Regions from separate parts of the Homo sapiens genome. Here region 1 is linked to region 2. Evidence: promoter capture Hi-C in human tissues and cell types (Jung and others, 2019). All regions are on one chromosome and are shown on one strand. The core of a region is centred on a gene start or on the middle of the fragment in contact, and the rest is flanking DNA. Distances in the headings are between cores, read along the strand shown. Region 1 overlaps SUDS3 (SIN3A corepressor complex component SDS3). Region 2 holds the start of HSPB8 (heat shock protein family B (small) member 8).

Region 1 (3,353 bases), core at 678-3,177, 790 kb before region 2:
GTTTAAAGTGTGTAAACATGGATTCCTGAGGTTACAGGAAATCGCGTGTATGTGTTGAATTTTTAACGCTCATCATCAGCCAGCAGTTTGGGTGCCAGCAGAGTCCTTGTTCCTGCGATGGTAGAAGTAATGATGGGTTTTAAAATGAGGGTTGGGTGCCACTCCTCATGCTGCTGTCATCTTTCATTCTGGGCCAGTGACTCTCCAACGCTTCACTGTGTCTCCTCAGTGAGAAGCTGCCCAGTGCACACCAACAGAGAGAAAAGGGGTTGAAGTGTGGGTGGGCGCTGAGAAAGTGGAGCCCCAGCTATTAGCTGTCTGCCTTTCCACCTTCTACCTCTCCCTGCTGTTACCCCCTTTCTACTCTGAGTTCCTGAAGCACCTCCTTGAGATGTCTTGAAAATCCTCAACCGGTTGCTCTTCCTAGACTTCCCTTTTAGCAGATAAAGGAGGTGGCATTTGTGGAAGGAGGTCCTGCCTCCTCACTTTAGATCTGATCCTTTAAGCAGAATATTTGCTCTTGAAACCTCAATTTCTCCATCTGTAGAGGGGAATATTAATACCTCATGGAACTGGCATAAGATGGAAGTAAGGAAAGAAAATGGATGTGAGTCATATTTCTGAAGTTAGAACAGCAGAGTGAGTATTGAGTTGTTTTTCTTCATTCTGCTCAGACTCTCAATCATGTCCTCATGTGTTCTTTTTTTTTTTTGAGACAGAGTCTCACTCTGTCACCCAGGCTGGAGTGTGGTGGCGCTATCTCAGCTCACTGCAACCTCCACCTCCTGGGTTCAAGCGATTCTCATGCCTCAGCCTCCTGAGTAGCTGGAATTACAGGCGCCTGCCACCACACCTGGCTAATTTTGTATTTTTAGTAGAGATAGGTTTTCACCATGTTGGCCAGGCTGCTCTCAAACTCCTGACCTCAGGTGATCCGCCCGGCTCGCCTTGGCCTCCCAAAGTGCTGGGGTTACAGGTGTGAGCCAACGTGCCCGGCCCTCATGTGTTCTTTCACATTTCTCTCTCCTAGGTAAAAATGCAGAAGAGCTCCTAAATCAGTCACGACTTGAGCTTTAAAAAGCACATTCTTTTCAGAGATGATCCACCTGCTTTAGTGGTGTCTGGCTGCTTTAACTGAAACAACTGCCACCTCTAAGTGCTAATTGTCATTTTGACTTGGTGCAAGGCATGATTTCTCGGAATGGCACAGGACTTCAGCTGTCTGGCCCACTTGTGCATGGTACAGATCTGAAGCTGTTATAGGAATGATCACATTGGGTTGGGTGTGCCTGGGTTCCTATGCCCAGCAATTCCCAGTGCCAAAGTGGGTAGGACTTCTGGGGGCTAAAAAATAATGAGTGGCTTGTCCCTTTCCTCAGTTAATTTTCTCTGTCAACAACTGTTAACATCTGGGCTTTTAATCTGGGGTTCCTAGAACTGTCAGAATTCTGTGGAGTTTGTATATGTGCTTTGTTCTGGGGAAGGGGTCCATAGCATTTGCCAGGTTTGCAAAGGGGCCCCTGGTAGACTGAGAATAGCACACCCTGGAGAATCTTTGTGGACTGTACGCACAGCCCCCTGTCACCCAGGAAAGAGTAGAAGCCATGGAGCAATTTTGCTTCAAGTTGCGGGTTTGTAGACAGGTTTGTGCTCTATTGTAAATCTAGTGGTGAGGGGAGCTGCTAGGTAACAGTTACTAATCATCCGGCACATGGTAGGTGCTAACTAAGTTGTTGAGTGCTGTTAGATGGGTGCTTTAAGGCATCTGAAGGGCATGATGTGTGAAGAGTCAGCAGGAAAGGCCTCAGGAGGGGGCTGCATTCAGTCAGGAACTTGGGAATGTGAATAGGAGGTCAGAGGGCATTGCAGGGACAGACAGCGTGAGCAGAGCTTGGTGGCCTGACAGTGAAGCCCCAGGTGTCCCTGGAGCCTCTGTCCTATGGATTATCTGTGGAGGTCCTTCCTTACCACATATAGCCCTTCATATAGTGCTTTAAAAAGGAGGTCCTGGCCGTAGGCAGTGGCTCACGCCTGTAATCCCAGCACTCTGGGAGGCTGAGGCTGGCGCATCACCTGAGGTCAAAATTTCAAGACCCTCCTGGCCAACATGGTGAAACCCCGTCTCTACTAAAAATACAAAAATCAGCCAGGTGTGGTGGTTTGCGCCTTTAATCCTAGCTACTTGGGAGGCTGAGGCAGTAGAATTGCTTGAACCCAGGAGGTGGAAGTTGCTGTGAGTCGAGATCATGCCACTGCACTCCAGTCTGGGTGACAGAGCCAGACTCTGTCTCAAAAAAACCAGAACCCCCCAGAAAACCAGGGGTCTCCATCCTTCAGGCTGCGGACCACTGGGCTGCTTTCCCCCACCTGCCGCCTGCCCCCCTACCCTGCCCCAGCCCGTGGGAGAATTGTCTTCCACCGAACTGGTCCCTGGTGCCAAAAAGGTTGGAGACCACTGCTTTAAAACATCACATCCACTCTGTTTCTGGAGTAATTGCATTATTTCTTCTTGACCCATCCTGCCACTGTGGAGACTGTTGGCGGGTGGACTGAGTGAAAGATGGGATAAGTTTATTTTGCCAGGGGAGTTTGGTTCCTGCTGCACGTTTTTTGCCCTCAGGCAGAACTGCCACAGCTGATATGTTCAGGGCCACATTTTTTTTTTTTTTTTTGAGACCAGGTTTCGCTCTGTCACCCAGGCTGTAGTACAGTGGCACAATCTCAGCTTACTGCAACCTCTGCCGCTCAGGTTCAAGTGAGTCTCCTACCTGCCTCAGCCTCTCGAGTAGTTGGGATTACAGGCGCCTGCCACCATGCCTGGCTAATTTTTATATTTTTAGTAGAGATGGGGTTTCGCCATGTTGGCAGGCTGGCAGGGTCACATTTTAACTAGACTTGAGTACTTGTCATGTCCTTTCCCTTCGTGTATATCAACATTTCACTGATGAAAACATTTGCTTTGTAACATGCTTTCAGAAAGCAATTACTGCTTCTAAATGAATGCTAACATCACTGTCTAGAAAGGTGGCACAGCCTAGCAAATCTAATTGCACTTTTTATCTCTTGCAGAACTCTTCCTCCAGCTGGAAGTAAGTACCACGGATCTTCTGGGTTTGCAGGCCCTGTCTGAGACTGGAATCTTGCAGTCCTGATCTGGTGGCTTTTCCTTCTATCACCAAGTAGATAGTTTGGAAGCCTTCACCACTGTTCTGTTTGACTTAAGGACATTTGGTCTCAGCTCAGACATCCTGTCTGGTCATTTGTTGTTGCGCAGCCTCTGCTTATCACAGGGGAATAAGGAATACTCATCCCTAACTGCTTATTGACTTCTATCCCGTGTTAGAGCTGTTTGG
Region 2 (3,452 bases), core at 631-3,130:
GGCTGAGACCCGAAAGCCCACACAGGGAAAACGACATGCCTAAAATTTTCTGCCTGTTGCGGACAGATCAAAGATTAGAACCCAAGCCGAAGAGGCCTCCAAGCCAAAGGAGGATTTGTAAATTCATTCTTCCAGCTGCATGGGAAGAGCAGGAAAGTCTAGATTTGGGGCTTTGAGTTTCAGACCAGACCTCCTGCCTGAGTGTAACATCTTTCAATAATTATCAGTATTAACAGTCATAATAATAATAGAAGCTACTATTCATGAACACTTCTATGGTAGTTTTCTCATCTGTAAAATGGGATAATACTGGTACTCTTACCTCACAGGATTGCTGGTGAGGGTTAAATGAATTCATATTTATAAAGCCCATAGAGCAGGGCCTGGCATATAGCAAACATTATGTAATTGATAACTCAAAATTGAAAATACAAGGAGAAAGAGAATTACCTCATGTATTCTTCATGGTACATCTGTGAGTTGGCTACTGTTATGTCCGTTTATAAGGAGGAAAACTAACAACCTGGAGGTGCCTGGGAATAATGTTACTGCCTATAAAGATGCTTTGATTGACCAAACATTAATCGGATTTCTGAATCTTCTCCTAAGCCCATCAGTGAGGTTCCTTATAAAAATTCAGTTTTGGGCCAGGCGAGGTGGCTCACGTCTGTAATCCCAGCACTTTGGGAGGTGGAGGCAGGTGGATCATGAGGTCAGGAGTTCAAGACCAGCCTGGCCAAGATGGTGAAATCCAACTCTACTAAAAAATACAAAAATTAGCCGGGCACGATGGCGGGTGCCTATAATCCCAGCTACTCGGGAGTCTGAGGCAGAAGAATCGCTTGAACCTGGAAGGCGGAGGTTGCAGTGAGCGGAGATGGCGCAACTGCGCTCTAGCCTGGGGGACAGAGTGAGACTCTGTCTCAAAAAAAAAAAAGAAAAGAAAGAAAGAAAAATTCAGTTTTGGCATGAACTCTGCTAAGTCTGTTTAGTAGCAACCACCCATCTTCGATTTCTGATCACCCTCGATATCTGATTAGTTTCCTCATCCTCCGCGGTCCCCCAGGTGATGTCTGAGCACCCTGGCCTGTCTTCAGCAAGAATCCTCTTAGGTTAGCTGAGCCCGAATCCCTCTGACTCCTGGACTTCCCTCCTAGTAAATTTCCATTCGCTGACCCCCCACCTGCTTCTTGGCTACAAATTCACACTTACCCATGACCTACTGGGAATCAAGTCTAATCTTTCTCCCTCACTGCAAAATCCCATTGCAGGGGTCCCTACATCTATGGAGAAAGTTTCCCTGCCCAGTAAAGTCTTGCTTGTCATACTTTAACAAGCGTCATATGAATATATATATACACATTAAAAAAATTTTTTTTTTCCTTTACCAATCTCCCCAGAGGGCATTGAGGCTCTAGGAGCTTGGCCATCTTGTAAGTGGGGATTGCAACCCAGGGCCATCCTTCAAATCCACTGGGCTCCTGTCTCTCTCTTCCCTTTCTGCAGGTCCCCAGGGGAAAGGCAGGATACGACACGCTCTAGGGAAGGTATTTCCAGAGGGTGACCTGAGCCCTCAGCCAGGCTCGGGGTTATTAATAGCCAGGCCTTAGTGCCCCGCTCGGGGAGGGCGGCTCCAGCTCCTGGAGCAAGAGGAGGGCGGAGCTGAGCGGAGTGGCCAGGGGAGGAGAGAGTGTCCGGAGAGGCCGGCTGAACTTGGACGCGGCCCCTCCCAGCTCCCCCCACAGCCCAGCTGTTCCCTCCGCGGATTCTCCGGGGCTGGTTCATCACCTCCGAATATTCCTGTGACAGGAGACGCTTGCAAAACCCGCCTCCAGCCTCCAGCAGCAAATAAATAGAAGGCTTGCAGCCCAGAAGGAGCCAGAAGAAGTTTCTAGGCGCGCGTGCCCTGGGTTTATTAAGCTCCTGGCTCCGCTCTAGACCTCAGCGGTTCTGGCTGCCAGCCTGGGCAGCCTGGGAAGCCTGGGAGGACGGTGGCTTGCCGGTCTGTCGTGAGGCAGTGCGGACGGGGACCCTCTGGGATTCTGCTGGATCTGCCCCGGGGGTTACCTTTGGGGGCTGGGACCCCAGTCGAGGGGACACAACCGTCCCTGGCAGTGGTTGGTTCTGCTTCTCCCTGCAGAAAAGCAGCATTTTCGGAAGCTGAAGAATAAGCTAGCCCAGCCACACCACCTTGTTGTGTGACCTTGGGCAGGTGGTTCTGTCTCTCTGAGCCTCTGTTTCTCTCTGAGCTGAGCAGCCACCATGGCTGACGGTCAGATGCCCTTCTCCTGCCACTACCCAAGCCGCCTGCGCCGAGACCCCTTCCGGGACTCTCCCCTCTCCTCTCGCCTGCTGGATGATGGCTTTGGCATGGACCCCTTCCCAGACGACTTGACAGCCTCTTGGCCCGACTGGGCTCTGCCTCGTCTCTCCTCCGCCTGGCCAGGCACCCTAAGGTCGGGCATGGTGCCCCGGGGCCCCACTGCCACCGCCAGGTTTGGGGTGCCTGCCGAGGGCAGGACCCCCCCACCCTTCCCTGGGGAGCCCTGGAAAGTGTGTGTGAATGTGCACAGCTTCAAGCCAGAGGAGTTGATGGTGAAGACCAAAGATGGATACGTGGAGGTGTCTGGTAAGTCAGGGGCAGGAGGGAGAGAGAATGGGGAGGCCGGGATGTAGCCCTCAGCCCTGGGAATAGCCAGAGAAAGTTTCCTGGGAGCTGACGTTGGGACAGTGTGACACAGGTGACCTCAGGGCTCAGGAATGCAGCCTGCAAAGTTATCTTTACGGAAAACTTCTCTCCCGGCTCCCAGCAGAGATCTTAACCTGCCTGACTCAGCTATTGGGGCCTCTGGGTGCTCATCAATCATGGTACAGACAGGAAAATAGAAACCATGTTGGATATTTTGACAGAGGGCATTTAATATAAAGAATAGGTTAAGCAGATATCAAAGAATTAAAAAACAAAGAAGAAACGGGATTTTGTGCACTCCAGCATCATAACAGAGTCTAGAAGTGCACGTTAAGGCTGAACAATGATAGTGTTAATAACCGCAACTGGTTTCCGGTGAAACACCTCTCCTTGTCCCAGACAGGGAAACTGAGGCTTACCAGTAATTGTAGTAACACTAACTGGTAACTCTGAGTGCTAACTATTCGCTCAGCACTTTGCTAACTGCTGTTGCCTATAATATCTCAGCTAATACCACAACCAGAGGAGGTGGGTACTGTTTATCTTCTTTTTTCAGATGAGGAAACTGAGGCACGGAGAGATTAAAGTAACTTGTTCAAGGCCACCAAGGAGTCAGACCCAGGTTGTCTGGGAATTAGGAGGCCAGAAAGAAGAAGTGATGATTTACTGAGCACCTACTAGGTGCCAAGGGTGGGCTGACATTCTTATACTTCTCCAAAATCATCCTCAGTCCACTCCAGGGTAGCAGGGTAGGCCCATCTTG

The links. Contacts are between HindIII fragments. The study calls those that stand out against the background at their distance.
Region 1: a fragment that was not itself captured here is called in contact with the fragment with the promoter of HSPB8 in region 2 in 1 of the 25 tissues and cell types used here (IMR-90 fibroblasts).

The regions. Positions count from the first base shown.
Region 1 is chr12:118,386,858-118,390,210 of GRCh38, forward strand. SUDS3 (SIN3A corepressor complex component SDS3) reads left to right here. Exons shown (of 12, transcript NM_022491.3): 5 at 3,070-3,089. Among named protein-coding and RNA genes, the nearest start is that of SUDS3, 12 kb to the left of the region's middle. The HindIII fragment of the contact is 6,770 bases long and covers 1-3,353 here.
Region 2 is chr12:119,177,051-119,180,502 of GRCh38, forward strand. HSPB8 (heat shock protein family B (small) member 8) reads left to right here and starts at 1,881. Exons shown (of 3, transcript NM_014365.3): 1 at 1,881-2,629. The coding sequence starts at 2,263. RefSeq lists enhancers at 1-304, 1,484-2,233. The HindIII fragment of the contact is 13,927 bases long and covers 1-3,452 here.